Regions from separate parts of the Homo sapiens genome. Here all the other regions are linked to region 4. Evidence: promoter capture Hi-C in human tissues and cell types (Jung and others, 2019). All regions are on one chromosome and are shown on one strand. The core of a region is centred on a gene start or on the middle of the fragment in contact, and the rest is flanking DNA. Distances in the headings are between cores, read along the strand shown. Region 1 has its middle 44 kb from the start of LINC00159. Region 2 overlaps MRAP (melanocortin 2 receptor accessory protein). Region 3 overlaps URB1 (URB1 ribosome biogenesis factor). Region 4 holds the start of HUNK (hormonally up-regulated Neu-associated kinase). Region 5 overlaps URB1 (URB1 ribosome biogenesis factor).

Region 1 (2,700 bases), core at 134-2,633, 260 kb before region 4:
AAAAGCCACCAACGTGGGAAAGTGATTTTACAGAATCTGAACGGGAAATGCAAGTCTTTCCTCAGGCCTGGGGGAAGCGTGTAGACTAAACAAGTAAAACAGGAGTATGGTGGTGGGGAATAGGAGAGTGGTTACAAACGTGGCCCTTGGTGTCAAACAGATCTAAATTCAAGTTCTGCTATTGCCATTTATTAGCTAGGCGTAGCAGTTATATACTTTTGTGTAACAAACCACCCCAATGTTTCGTGGTTTGAATTAACAACCATGTATTTGTTCAAAAATTCTGCAGTTTGGATGGGACTCAGTTGGGAGGCTCCTCTGCCGGTCTTTGCAGGGGTTACTTGTGTGGCTGCAGCGAGGGCTGGCAGGTCCCAGGGGGAATGTCTAGAATCACTGGGACAGGTGGGCCTCTTTCTCCATGTGGTCTTTTCTCATCCTGGTCTCTCATGTGAGAAACATGTGAAGACAAGGTTTCTTCCCATGGTGGAGGGAGGGACCATTCCAAAAAGGGAAGCCCCTTTATAAGTGCACGTGCATTTATAAAGCCTTTGTTTGCATTACATTTACTGATGTCCCATTGGCCAAAGCAAGTCACATGGTCAAGTTCTGAGTTAATATGGGAGGGAGGGTGAATTATAGAAGGATATAGATACTGGGAGGTGGAATTCACTGGAGATCATTAATATAATAATATACTGGCAGCCCGGGGCAAGCTTTTAATTTCTCCAAGTGTTGGTTTTCTGATCTGTAAAATGAAAATAATCTTCGATGTATTACTTGGAAATAGGCTGGATCCATGTCATGAAAAACTCCAACAAAGTATGGTGTGAAAAACTGAGGATTTTTTCCCCCTCATGCGACATGATATCTGGGTTTGGCATTTGGTAGTGTTTAGTTCAGAGGCTAAATAATATCATGGTGTAAGTCTCTGTAATTCTCTTGGCTTTTCCCTCATGGTAATAAGATGGCTGTAATAGTTCCAGCCTTCTCTCTCTCTTTCTTTTTCTCTCTCTTTTTCTCTCTCTTTCTTTTTCTTTTTCTTTCTTCCTTTCTTTCTTTCTTTCTTTCTTTCTTTATTTCTTTCTCTCTTTCTCTTTCTCTCTCTCTCTTTCTCACTCTCTCGCTCTTTCTCTCTTTCCTTCCTTCCTTCCTTCCTTTCCTTCTTTCTTTCTTTTTCTCTTTTTTTTTTTTTTTTGACAGAGTCTTGCTCTGTCACCTAGGCTAGAGTGCAGTGACACAATCTGAGCTCACTGCAGCCTTCACCTCCTGGGTTCCAGCAATTCTCCTGCCTCAGCCACCCGGTTGGCTGGGATTACAGGCATGCGCCACCATGCCTGGCTAATTTTTTGTATTTTTAGTAGAGATGGGGTTTCACCATGTTGGCCAGGCTGGTCTGGAACTCCTGACCTCAGGTGATCCACCCGCCTTGGCTTCCCAAAGTGCTGGGATTACAGGTGTGAGGCACCATGGCTGGCCTCAATGTCTTTCTAAGAGCCAGAAATGGGTAGAGCAAACAGCACAAGGTATGCTTCAGTGGGGACAGCCTTCCTCTGACAGAGCTTTCCCAGAAGCCCTATCCACTCACATCTCATTGGCCAAAACTGTGTCACATGGCCACCTCTAACTGCAAGGGAGTTTACGAAATATTATTTTTTAATATGGGTACATTGTTTCCTCTCCCAAATAAGATTCTGTTAGTAAAAAAGGAAGAGTGAAGTGGAGAATATGTATTGGGTAGGCATCTAGCGGTGACTGCTGCCCCCATGCCCACCTCACAAAGTTGCCATGTGCATAGTAGGTGCTCATTAAAGAGTAGCTGTTTTTTTTTTCTTTTTTTTAAATTCATTTGATAGCCTCTACTAGCTAGCTGGTCCATCTGTTTCCCTACCATATCTCTTCCCCAAGGAGCAGGAAGAGGGGGAGCTCTGAGTTGTCCTGCAACTCTTGTCTTCCTGGTATTCTACATGGTTCCTGTATCAGTTCATGATACCTACATAACAACCACCCAGAAACTCAGTGGGATAAAATAACAAGCATTGTTATTGCTTGCAAGTCTACAGGTAAGCTGGATGGTCCCTCTAGTTTCACCTGGGCTCATCCATCCATCTGAGGTTGGCTGAGGGTCAGGGAGGTGGCTCTGCTGATCTTGGCTGGGCTCTCTCACATGTTTGGGGATCAGAACTGCAAAGAAACATTGAAAGCAGTAGATACAAGGAAGGGTGAAGAATAGCAGACATTTTCATAATCAATCTCTCTCAGCTTCTATCTCATGTTTCGGGAGACCACAGTGCCCTGGCATCATGGAAGGACCCAAGAGATTCTGTTCTGTCAACCTTGGCCCACAGCAACCATGTGGAAAATCTGTTTCCTTATGAATTGTACCTCCTTGGTTGTCTTAGACAGCTTGGGCTGCTGTAACAGGTTACCATAAACTGGGTGGCTTATACATAACAGAAATTTATTTCTGATAGCTCTAGAGGCTGGGAAGTCCAAGATCAAGGCCCAGCAAATTCAGGGTCTGGCAAGTGCCCACCTCCTTGTTTACAGACGGCTGTCTCACTGTGTCCTCACATGGCAGAAGGGGCACAAAATCTCTAGAGTCTTTTTTAAAGGGAACAAATGAAGGATTTGCTCTCATAACCTAGTCACCTCCCAAATGTCCCATCTCCTAACCCCATCACATTGGGCATTAGGTTTCAA
Region 2 (2,700 bases), core at 1-2,500, 430 kb before region 4:
AGTAAGGAGTCCCAGGGTATTGTGGAATGAGGGCCCTGAGTTTCGGTTGTCCTCCAGCCTCTCAGCTGTTACCATGGGGAAGATCTCCCATTAACAATAACTTTGGGAAAGAACAGGGGAGCCAAGAAGTGTCTTTTTCCTCAGGGCAGCTGGCCACGGGGTCTGTTTAGGGTGATTGTTAAGAGGAAACACTGAATGGAATTGTGTGCCCCCCCACCCCATGCATCTGCTTGCCCGGCTCCTAGTGGTGCTCAGAGGAACAGTCCTGAAGGATGGGAGGGAGAGGAGAGGGCTGTGGGCAGCTCTGTGTGTTAGGAAGGACTCCTGGGCCCCCGGGAGGGATGCAGCGCCTACCAGGGGCCGTTGGTGGAACAGCTTCAGAGACCCCAGGAGTTGATACCCTGCGGAGGATGTGCGCTGGGCTACAGCGCTCCGGTGGGGAGGCCCTTTCTGCTCTACGGGAGTTAGCCTAGGTCTGCTCATGCCTGGATCGGCAAGGTGGAAATAGCGAGTCCCTCTCTCAGGCAGGAAGTCTCATCTCAGGGGCTGTGGCAGGAAGGAAAAAGCACTTTTGCTACCAGCATGATGGCTGTATTTGTGGCCTGAGGCTGAAGGGGGAAAGGGAAACCAGGAAACACACTTAGCCCCCCTGGGGCCCTGGGTAGAACCTGGCTGGCCAGGAGGGGCCTTTTTCCTTCTCCAGGCTCCAGTTTGGGAATGTTAGGCCAGTTGCTATGGAACTACTTTCTAGCACGACAGTTTTTCTTGGTGGTTGTCTGTGGCTGTGGGCAATCCGGCTCGTAATTAGGGTCTGCAAGTGTCTTATCCCAGACCAACTGCGTAATGCCAAGATGTCACAAGCTGAGATATTCTAGACGCCTATGTGTGTGACCAAAAGGCGCTATTAGAGGATGATAACCTAACGAGAATTCATTGAGCGCCTTTTGCGAGGGACTGTTCAGGATTCAGAGGGGGCTAAACCAGCACATTAGAAATTGCTAACTCCCCTCATTCACCCACAATGTTCCACCCCCAACCTCCTCCTCCTCTGAACTTCTGCAGTGCTTCCAGCACTAACACTGTGAGTAAATGAATGAGAGAACGTGCAAACCACTGAAAGAATGAATAAAGTGAGAGTAATCTACATAGAGGCAGAGGTGGAGGCTCTGGGGTGAAGATTGGTATTTGAGTAAAGGATGTCATCTCTGCCATCTACGACCCCTGAGAGATAGCAGGAAAAACTGAGGACTCATAAGAGTTGATCTTGGACCCTAAAATGTAACATTAAAAACAGGGTATAATGGGCTGGGCACAGTGGCCCATGCCTATAATCCCAACACTTTGGGAGGCCAAGGTGGGAGGTGGATCACTCGAGTCCAGGAGTTCGAGACCAGCCTGGACAACATAGCAAGACCCCATGTCTAAAAAAAAATTTTTTTGATTACCTGGGCACGGTAATGCCCATAGTCCTACCCCTTCATGAGGCTGGGGTCGGAGGATCACTTGAGGCCAGGAGTTCAAGGCTGAAGTGAGCTACGATCACGCCAGTGTGCTCCAGCCTGGGCCACAGAGCAAGATGCTGTCTCAAAAAAAAAAAAAAAAAAAAAAAAACAACAAAAAAAACAAATCCCCCTCAAAACAGGGTATAATGAAAAGGCACAGTATTGGCGAAAGAATCATGAGCATCCATTGCCTTGTAATTCATCAGCAACTTGGCATTTACACTCCACGGGGGCAGGGACAGCAAAGACCCCCAGGCTGGCTCTCATGTCTCTCCTGTCTGTCTCCGAGCTGAGAAACTGACGCAGTCCCCTAGAGCAGGGAACTGTTTAAGAGCACCTCTGGATTCCTGGGGAAAGGGAAATGAGGTTGAACTGTGTGTCCTAAGCTTAAAAGGAGTTTTTTTGGTTTGTTTTGTTTGTTTGTTTGTTTTGTTTTGTTTTTTGTTTGTTTTTTTTTGTTTGAGACAGAGTCTTAATCTGTCACCAGGCTGGAGTGCAGTGGCACAATCTCGGCTCACTGCAACCTCCGCCTGCCGGGTTCAAGTCGTTCTCCCGCCTCAGCCTCCCGAGTAGCTGGGATTACAGGTGCCCACCACCACATCCAGCTAATTTTTGTATTTCTAGTACAGATGGGGTTTCACCATGTTGGGCAGGATGGTCTTGATCTCCTGACCTCATGATCCACCTGCCTCGGCCTCCCAAAGTGCTGGGGTTACAGGCGTGAGTCACCGCACCCAGCCAGCTTAAGGATTTTTGAAAGAAGCCTCTGACTCTCTTAGCCTTCCTTGCCCACCCCCTGTGCATTGTCCTACACTCCCGAAGAGTTACAATCTATTTTACAACCCTTACAGTAAAAGAGTGCATATGCTGTCAGAAAATGGGATTGGAAGTTTTATTCTGTAGGGATATTTTAGGTTTCTGCGGACACTAATGCTCTTTTTCCTTCCTAAAAATAGTGCAGGGTTTGAGGTCTTATAGCACCTACATAAATTCTACCAGGGATCTAAGGGAACAGCTTCAAACTCAGCACCTGAGAGCCCCTTTCTCCCAGACTGACACTTGTCTGAGTCCTTATCGTCATCCCCAGATATTGAGCAAGAAATAAGATGACAGGTTTCACAGAACGCAGTGTCTTCATATAAGTGGAGTTTAAGTTTTGTCAGACCAAAAGGCAATCGTCAGCCAATAGTCATTTTCT
Region 3 (2,700 bases), core at 141-2,640, 470 kb before region 4:
ACTTTTCCCATGCTGGAAATTCACCCAGGCTGGGTTCTTCAGACACGTGCTCGCAAATGTGGGTGGGGCACCAGCCAGGTCACAGTCCAGTCCTTCCGGGGCAGGTGGAGTGTCTCAGGCGATTGTGGTATAACTGGATGACAGCTCTGGCTGGGCTTGGCTGCGATGCCTTGGGCACCCCGAGGGGGGCATGGAAATGTAGGCTTGAGGATGGAATGGATTAGGAAAGGGGCCTTCTGCTCTCTGTCTCGCTAACAACAGTGAATACTTGCGTGGCAGCTGCCGCCCCTGTCTTAGCCCTGTGCTCTATGTGACGTCTGTGCCTCGTCACTGCCTTTCAGACGCTGGAGGAGGTGCTTGTGGCCATCCTCAGGCACCCCACCCTGGAGGGCTGGTTCCTGGCCCTGGAGCAGCAGGCCCTCCCGCCGCACACGCTCAGCCCTGTCCTCGTGAAGCTCCTGGCCACCCACTTTAGTGCAGGGGTCCTTCAGCTGCTGGCAGCAAGTGCCCCGATCCTCCAGAACATTGGGCAGCTGGGCCTTCTGGCCAGGTACTCAGAGGCCATCACCCAGAGTGTGCTGAAGGAACTTCAGAACAGGAGGGCGGGCCCGGCCACATCACCACCAAAGACCCCGCCGCAGCTGGAGGCCCTGCAGGAGCTGCATCCATACATGGAGGGTGCCCAGCTCCGTGAGGTCACCCTGGCCTTGCTGAGCCTGCCTGAGACACACCTGGTGACCCAGCAACCCACGAAATCCCCCGGGAAGGAAAGACACCTGAATGCTCTTGGAAAGACCCTGGTGCAGCTGCTGACCTGCAGCCCCCAGGATCAGCTGCAGAGTGGTGAGCTCCTGTGGTCCTCCGAGTATGTGAGAGGCCTGGGGGCTCTGCTGCCCACGCTAGCAGTGGACGAGCTGGACACAGTGCTCCTCCACACTCTGCAGAGAGACCCTGTGCTGGCCCCCGCAGTCGGGGCTGATCTGCTTGACTACTGCCTGGCCCGGCGCACACAGGCGGCCCTCAGCATCGCTGCCCTGCTCCTCCAGGAGAGCTGCACCCACTTGCTGTGGTTCGAGCAGTGGTGCCTGCAGGCTGGCCCAGGGCTCGGCCTCCAGGGGGACCTGGACGACTTCCTTCCCCTCATCCATGTGTACCTCCAGTGCAGGACACGGAGCCACTTCACACGCCCAGCAGGAGGTAAGGGAAAGGCTAGCTTTGGGCAGCTGGGGTCTTAAGTTGCACGGGCTAAGAAGGTGAACTGCATGGCCATTTTTAAACCCTAGAAATTCAGGTTCTGGGATGTGGGTTAGTTTCCAGTGTCTGACACAACTCTGAAGATGGAGAAAGGTGGAGTAATTCTCCCCAGTACCCTGTCTCCCTTCAGTCTCCCTACTTTGTGGCTTGAGGCACAGCCCATTGTGCCCCATCAGGTCTGAGTTCCCCCACATGAAGCTGGCGGGAGTTGGGTACAGTAGCGGGGGTTATTTAGGGCTGTCCTGTTACGTTGAAGGAGTTCTTGGGTGCCAATCCATCCCATGTCCCAGGGTTCCCTGCCCTCTGGGGAGATGTTGATGAGTTGATGTTGAGTCGAGGCAGCCTGGGTTCAGCTCTCTCTTCTGTCTCCACTCACTGGGTTTCAGAGCTGAGGCACTTTTCAATTACCCCAAATTTAATGTAATTCCCTTTTGTTGAATGCATGGGTGATTTTTACTCACCACTTTGCCTCTGTTTTGCATAACTTCCTATCATTGATGACAGAGGTTTTAAAAAGTAAGACAGTGCCCTGCAAGTCTTCTAGTCATAGTCCATTTAACATTGGTATAACGGAAGACCTGAGGATGAGTGATTTATAAAGAAAAGAGGCTTATTTGGCCCATGCGTCTGCAGGCTGTACAGGAAGCAAGGAGCTAGCGTCTGCTTCTTGTGAGGGCCTCAGGCTGCTTCCACTCATGGTGGAAGAAAAAGCGGAGCCAGCTCTGCAGAGATCACACGGCCAGAGGGGAAGCAAGAGGCACAGGAGGTGGCAGGCTCTTTTTAACACCTGGCACTCTGGGAACTAATAGGGTGAGCCAGAACTCATTCACTCTACCACAAGGACTGCACCAAGCCATTCATGAGGGACCTGCCTCCATGACCCAAACACCTCCCATTAGACCCCACCTCCAACACTGGAGATCACATTTCAACATGAGATTTGGAGGGGACAGACATCCAAACCATAGCAGCTACCCTCCCTATTCCATGGCTTTGAAGAATGAATCCCATATGAATTGAGAACCTTGGCACTCATGGTCTCATCATGAGCTTAGAAATAGCGTCTATAGCCAGGGCCCCCTGTGTTGAAGAGTATCCATCAAGAGTGTTGACTGATGAGATAGGGGAGGACCCTTGAAGGAGACAGGTGTGCCAGTTTCCATGGTGTCAGTACTCCTGCCGTGACCAATTTCAGGCCACCGGTGTGGCATCACCAGGGTCACAGGATACCTAAAATATAGCAACCAGTTCCTAGGAGCTGGTCCAAGCTGGCTGCAGCCCACCATTGGGTGTGATGACTTCTCCTTTGTATCTCTGCCCTAGTGTCTTCCGCTGTCATTCCTGTCTTGAGGAAGACCCTGTGGAGGCAGCTACAGAGCAGGCTTCTTAGCACTGACAGTCCCCCAGCATCTGGGCTGTACCAGGAGATCCTGGCACAGCTGGTCC
Region 4 (2,700 bases), core at 135-2,634:
GCCCAGGACGGGGATCAGACTCTAAGCTCCCCCCAGAGGCTGGCTGTTAGCTTTCCTGCCCCCCCCGCCCCCCGACATAAGAGCCCACCTCCTCTAGCCCTGGTTCCCGCCTCGCCACGGATCCGCCGCCCCTGCCGGCCTGAAGGGCAGAGGGGCCCCATCCCGCCCCCCGCGCTAGTGTCGCCAGGCGGCGCCCTTCCACGAGCAGAACGGCCGCGCGGGACGCTTCCCGGGGCAAGGCCGTCCCCTCCCAAGCCCCCAACCCCCGGGCAGCGGACCGCAGGCCGCCTTCGGGAAAGGCTGCGAGATGCTGAGCGCGCGTTTTAACCCAACAGGAAAGCCGGGCGGAGGGGGAAGGCGCTTGGCCCGGGACTGCACACTGGGACTCCCAGTGCAGTGCTCCCCGCGGGGTCCTGGCCGCCGACTCCCGCCCCTGTGCCCCAGCCCCACGGCGCCCGGGAGACTCACCTTCTCCCCGGTCAGCACGTGCAGCCCCTCGCGCACCTTGGCAAAGGAGCCCTCGCCCAGCTTCCTGCTGCCGATGAGGTAGTTGCCCACGCGCTTGTGGTGCTGGAAGTCGCGGAGCCGCTCGCGGGGCACGCCGCTCACCCAGGCAGGCAGGAAACTTCCCTCGCAGGCCGCCGCGGGCCTGGCCGCGTCCTCCGCGCCGCCGCCGCCCCCAGGCGCCGCCGGCTCCCCCAGGAGCCCGTCCCCCGCCGCCGCCGGCATCGCGCTCGCCGCGGCCCGCGCGGCTCCTGCTCGTCTCCCGCGCTCGCAGCTCCTCCTCCCCAGGCTCTTCGGCTTCCCCGGCTTCTCCCGCCGCCGCCCTGGGCCCAGCCCCGCCTGGGTCTCCGCACCCAGAGCCCGGGGCCGCCGCGATCACGCCCCCCGCGCCGCCCAGCGAGGCGCGTAGACAATAGCGGCTGCCCAGGGGACGCGGGACCGGGGACCCCGCCCCCAAAAGTTCTTCCTCTTAGGGTCGCCCGGGCCCCTTTCAGGACACCAGGATCCCGCCCCGGGTCCCGTCCAGGAAGCTAATGACAGTCGCCCTGCTCGGGCGCGCGGGGTGGGGCGCGGTCCGGCGGCGCCTGGGTCCCGGGGTCCGGGTGCCTGGGTCCGGGAGCCCGGGTGCCTCCGCAGCCTCCGCCTCGCCGCCGCCGTCTGGCCCGCACGGGCTTGGGTCGGGCTCCCGCGATCGCTCCTAGCCGTGCGCTGGGCGGCCGCTCCCGCCGGAGAGAAGCGCGCGGCGGGCTGCCGGCGCCCTCTGGAAGGCAGCAGAAGAAAGCCCCATTCAGTTTGAATTTGCAGAAATTTAATCCGCTCGCGGGCGGCGGGAACAGATGCGAGCTCCACTCCGCAGCCCGTGCACTTTCAAATCCCTAGTAGCCCCTCCTTCCCCGCGCGCCACAGTCAAACTCGACCCTCGCTGGAGAGGGGAGGGCCCGGGGAGGGGAGCGGCGGAGTGGACGGAGAAGCCACCTGAGCGCCAGACAGGGAGAACCTGCGCGGCCTCGGAGGCGCGCGCTCCCGGGCCGCCCAGGTCGGGCCGCCTCCGGCTGCGCCTCTTGCCCGGATTCTGGGCTTGGGTTTTCTGGACCTTTCGGCGGTGAAATCCCCCACTGGCCGCACCCACCCGGGGCGGGGGGAAGGGGGAAGGCTCTCGAACTCCGTGGACTGTGAGTCGGGTTGCGTGCCCGGCCCTGAGTCCGCCACACAGTAGGGCCCCCTGGACCGGGGGTGGAAGGATAGATGGATGGCTGGAAGAAAGGGTGGGGAGGCGGCCAGGCGTCTGCCCGGGCTCGCACGCAGCCTGGTTGGCTGTGTTGGAGGAGGCGCAGCCACAGCAGTAATAGTAGCAGCAGCAATGTAGGAACCAGGGCGTTTGCTGCCTCTGCTTGTAGCTTACACCTTCTTTGCCTTCCATTGAAATGATGCCTGTGATTGCAGGAGGTGGACCGGCGCTCGCCTCTCTTCGATGCTTTTGTTCTGCAAGCGCTGTGACTGTGCTCATCGCATAAACAATTGCAACTGCCCTGACGACACTGGACCCTCTCCCAGGATCCCCAACGTCTTCTCAAACCGAAAATGAAGAATCTTGTGAGGGAGAAGGAGGAGGGTAGGTAGGAGGAGGCATTTACAAAATGCTACCTGTTGAGGTGCCCGCATTTGATGGAAACTTCACCCCGATCATGCAACATCAGAGCTGAAAGGAAGGATTTGGTCCTAACAAAGTTCCTTTCATTGTTTATTCCTGAGTAAACAAGTATGACATCGACCCATAGCAATGCTTTGAGATTGGGAGTGGGGGGTGGGGGAACAACAGCTGTCATCAATCCAGTGTCTGGGGGTCTCGCTGACCCATCTGAAGAGGGACGCAGAGAAATGCCTGCTTTCAATACATCTAATTTTAAATACGCTACTATATTCATCCACCTACCTGTTACAAGTCACCAGCCTCAGTTATTATGACGGAACATACTGCGTTTTCTGTTGTTCTGTCTCATTGTTCCCGTTTACCAATATTAAAGATACAGCTTAAAATGTTTTTCTTGCTGTGCTGAAGGGACTTCTTTGCTCCCACCGGCCTTGACTATTTCAGTAACGTTCATTCAATCCTTTTAATGTCTCTAATTCAGTAATCAAATCTTAACAGGACAGTTGCATGGGAGGGGAATGGTAACTAGCGTGGTGCCAGCAGAA
Region 5 (2,700 bases), core at 132-2,631, 450 kb before region 4:
TTTAATTTTAATCCTTGATAACTGTCCTGGTTAAGCCATTTTGATCTGAAGGTCTGTTAAGGCCACGTTGCTATTCATGAGGTTCTTGAAACAAAGAGAATGGCATTTATAACTATTTTTAAATAGCCTATCATGTTTTCAGCATTCTGAGGGCGGCTCTTTTCCATAAGTGTTACAAAGCCAAGATTTTCATAGAGTAGCAGAGATGAGCACAAAACAGGAAACTGACTTTTCCTCATGGACACGTGGAAAATCCATTTGTCTTAGAATGTCAGTGATTACTAAAAATATCCCAGCCAGCTGAGTATTAGCTGCTTTTAGTGAGTATAAACTAAATGTTTAGACTTTTCTCTTTCCCAAATGTATTCCATTTACCTATATTTGTTATGTACTTATGTAGGTGTCTCTTAAACACATTTCTTCCATCTTTTGTAAAACAATATAATTGTATCTAGTTTGGTGCTTTTAAAGCTTTTGGATTTCTTTTTCCCTCTTATCAAAAACAGTCACTTGTGAGAAATAAGAAAATTAGGCTGGGCACGGTGACTCATTCCTGTAATCCCAGCACTTTGGGAGGCCAAGGCGAGCTGATCACTTGAGGCCAGGAGTTTGAAACCAGCCTGGCCAACATGGTGAAACCCCGTCTCTACTAAAAATAAGAAAATTAGCTGGGCATGGTGGCACATGCCTGTAGTCCTAGCTACTCAGGAGGCTGAGGCACAAGAATCGCTTGCACCCGTAAGGTGGAGGTTACAGTGAGCCAAGATTGTGCCACTGCACTCCAGCCTGGGCGACAAAGGAGACTCTGGCTTTAAAAAAGTAGAGATAAGAGAATTAGAAAATTTTGTTCCTAAACTGCTATGCCCAAGAGTCATCTGACTATGCTCTTTTCATCCTTTCACTTTTAGTCTATGTCTTGATATTGAAAATGGGTTTCTTGAAGGCAGCATGTACCTAGGTTCTGCTTTTTATCTAATCTGACCATCTCTGCCTTTTATTTTGGAGTGCATACATCATTTATATTTAATGTGATTATTGATCTGACTCTATTTTATCTCTTGTTGACTTTTACCTGCAACTTTTGTATGTGTATGAGTGCATGCATGCATATTTTTACTGGTTGCTTTAGGGTTTATAGTACACATCTTCAATCTATTATAGTTTATCTTCAAGTGAGATGATACCACTTCATGTATAGTATAAGGACCTTGTAACAGTATAGATCCATTTCCTCCCTTCTGGCTTTTCTGCTATTCTTGTCATGCATTACATTTCAGTATGCTATAAACCCTACAATATAGTGTTGTTTTTGCTTCAAATTGTCATTATTTCTAAAAGAAGTGTAAATATTTGATATTTGCCATATTGTTACCATTCCTTTGTGTAGATCTAGATTTCTATCTGGTATCATTTTTCTTCTTCCTAAAATACTTCCTTTAAGAATTCTTATTGTTCAAGTCTACTGGTGACCAATTGTTTTAGCTTTTTTGTGTCTGAAAAAAGTCTTAACTTTTGAAAGATTTTGATACTGGTGACCAATTGTTTTAGCTTTTTTGTGTCTGAAAAAAGTCTTAACTTTTGAAAGATTTTGATGGGGTATAAAATTCAAGGTTGACAGTTTTTTTTCTTACAGTACTTTAAAGAAGTTGCTCCTCTGGTTTCTGAATTGAGTTATTTCTGACAAGAAATCTGCCATTCTTATCTTCATTCTTCTGTATGTCATGTGGCTGCTCTTAAGATTTTTTTTAAATCACTGGTGTCAAACAATTTGATCACAATGTGCTTTCGTGTGATTTTCTTTTATATATAAATATATATGCTTTATTTGTGATGATGCTTGCATGATATTCTTAATGTTTTATGTTTTGAGTTTCTTGGCTGTCTAGGTTTATAGTTTTTTTTGGTCAGATTTCAAAAAGTTTTGGCCATTATTTCTTCGGATTTTTTTCAGGGACCCCCTATTACACATACCCACAGGACACTGATGTTCTGTTCATATTTTTCCTCTCTGTGTTTTCAGCTTGGATAGTTTCTATTGCTGTCTTAAGTTCGCTAATCCTTTTTGGTCTAGTGTCTAATCACTGATAATCCCATCTCTATTGGTCCATTCTTGCACTGGTATAAAGAACCCGAGACTGGATAATTGATCAAGAAAAGAGGTTTAATTGACTCATGGTTTCATAGTCTGTGTAGGAAGCATGGCTGGGGAGGCCTCAGGAAACTTTCAATTATGGTAGAAGGCAAAGGGAAAGCAGGCACATCTTACATGCCAGAGCAGGAGGAAGTGGGGCAGTGCCACACGCTTCTAAACAACCAGCTCTTGTGAGAACTCACTAGCATGAGAACAGCAAGGGGAAATCTGCCCCGAGATCCAATCACCTCCCACCGGAGTCCCCACCTCCAACATGGGGGTTTGTAATTCAACATGAGATTTGGGTAGGGCCACAAATCCAAACCATTTCACCATCCAATGCATTTTTCAGCTCAGATATTTTAGTTTTCATCTCTAGAAGCTTGGTTTTGGGTTTTTGTATCTTCTGTGTCCCTGCTTAAAATGCTTTATCTTTCTTTAACTTTTAAAAATGTCATCAATGGACTATCTCTTATTGATGTTATATTCCATGATTACTCATTTGGAGTAGTCATTTCAGTTGGCTTGTGTTTGGTTCCCAATTAGGCCACTGGTCACTCTATCTCGAG

The links. Contacts are between HindIII fragments. The study calls those that stand out against the background at their distance.
Region 1: a contact is called between a fragment that was not itself captured here and the fragment with the promoter of HUNK in region 4, in 1 of the 25 tissues and cell types used here (dorsolateral prefrontal cortex).
Region 2: a fragment that was not itself captured here is called in contact with the fragment with the promoter of HUNK in region 4 in 1 of the 25 tissues and cell types used here (thymus).
Region 3: a contact is called between a fragment that was not itself captured here and the fragment with the promoter of HUNK in region 4, in 1 of the 25 tissues and cell types used here (lymphoblastoid cells).
Region 5: a fragment that was not itself captured here is called in contact with the fragment with the promoter of HUNK in region 4 in 4 of the 25 tissues and cell types used here (dorsolateral prefrontal cortex, hippocampus, lymphoblastoid cells and 1 more).

The regions. Positions count from the first base shown.
Region 1 is chr21:32,128,569-32,131,268 of GRCh38, reverse strand. No RefSeq gene overlaps it. Among named protein-coding and RNA genes, the nearest start is that of LINC00159, 44 kb to the right of the region's middle. The HindIII fragment of the contact is 4,896 bases long and covers 1-2,700 here.
Region 2 is chr21:32,303,877-32,306,576 of GRCh38, reverse strand. All of the region lies in intron 1 of MRAP (melanocortin 2 receptor accessory protein), which reads right to left. It overlaps MRAP-AS1 (MRAP antisense RNA 1), which reads left to right. Exons shown (of 2, transcript NR_187556.1): 2 at 1-113. Among named protein-coding and RNA genes, the nearest start is that of MRAP-AS1, 3.5 kb to the left of the region's middle. RefSeq lists a silencer at 1-119. The HindIII fragment of the contact is 9,800 bases long and covers 1-2,700 here.
Region 3 is chr21:32,345,453-32,348,152 of GRCh38, reverse strand. It overlaps URB1 (URB1 ribosome biogenesis factor), which reads left to right. Exons shown (of 39, transcript NM_014825.3): 22 at 342-1,197; 23 at 2,578-2,700. Among named protein-coding and RNA genes, the nearest start is that of SNORA80A, 31 kb to the left of the region's middle. The HindIII fragment of the contact is 7,941 bases long and covers 1-2,700 here.
Region 4 is chr21:31,871,704-31,874,403 of GRCh38, reverse strand. HUNK (hormonally up-regulated Neu-associated kinase) reads right to left here and starts at 1,384. Exons shown (of 11, transcript NM_014586.2): 1 at 469-1,384. The coding sequence starts at 729. RefSeq lists silencers at 111-290, 1,217-1,266. The HindIII fragment of the contact is 17,092 bases long and covers 1-2,700 here.
Region 5 is chr21:32,326,269-32,328,968 of GRCh38, reverse strand. All of the region lies in intron 30 of URB1 (URB1 ribosome biogenesis factor), which reads left to right. Among named protein-coding and RNA genes, the nearest start is that of MRAP-AS1, 19 kb to the right of the region's middle. The HindIII fragment of the contact is 5,656 bases long and covers 1-2,700 here.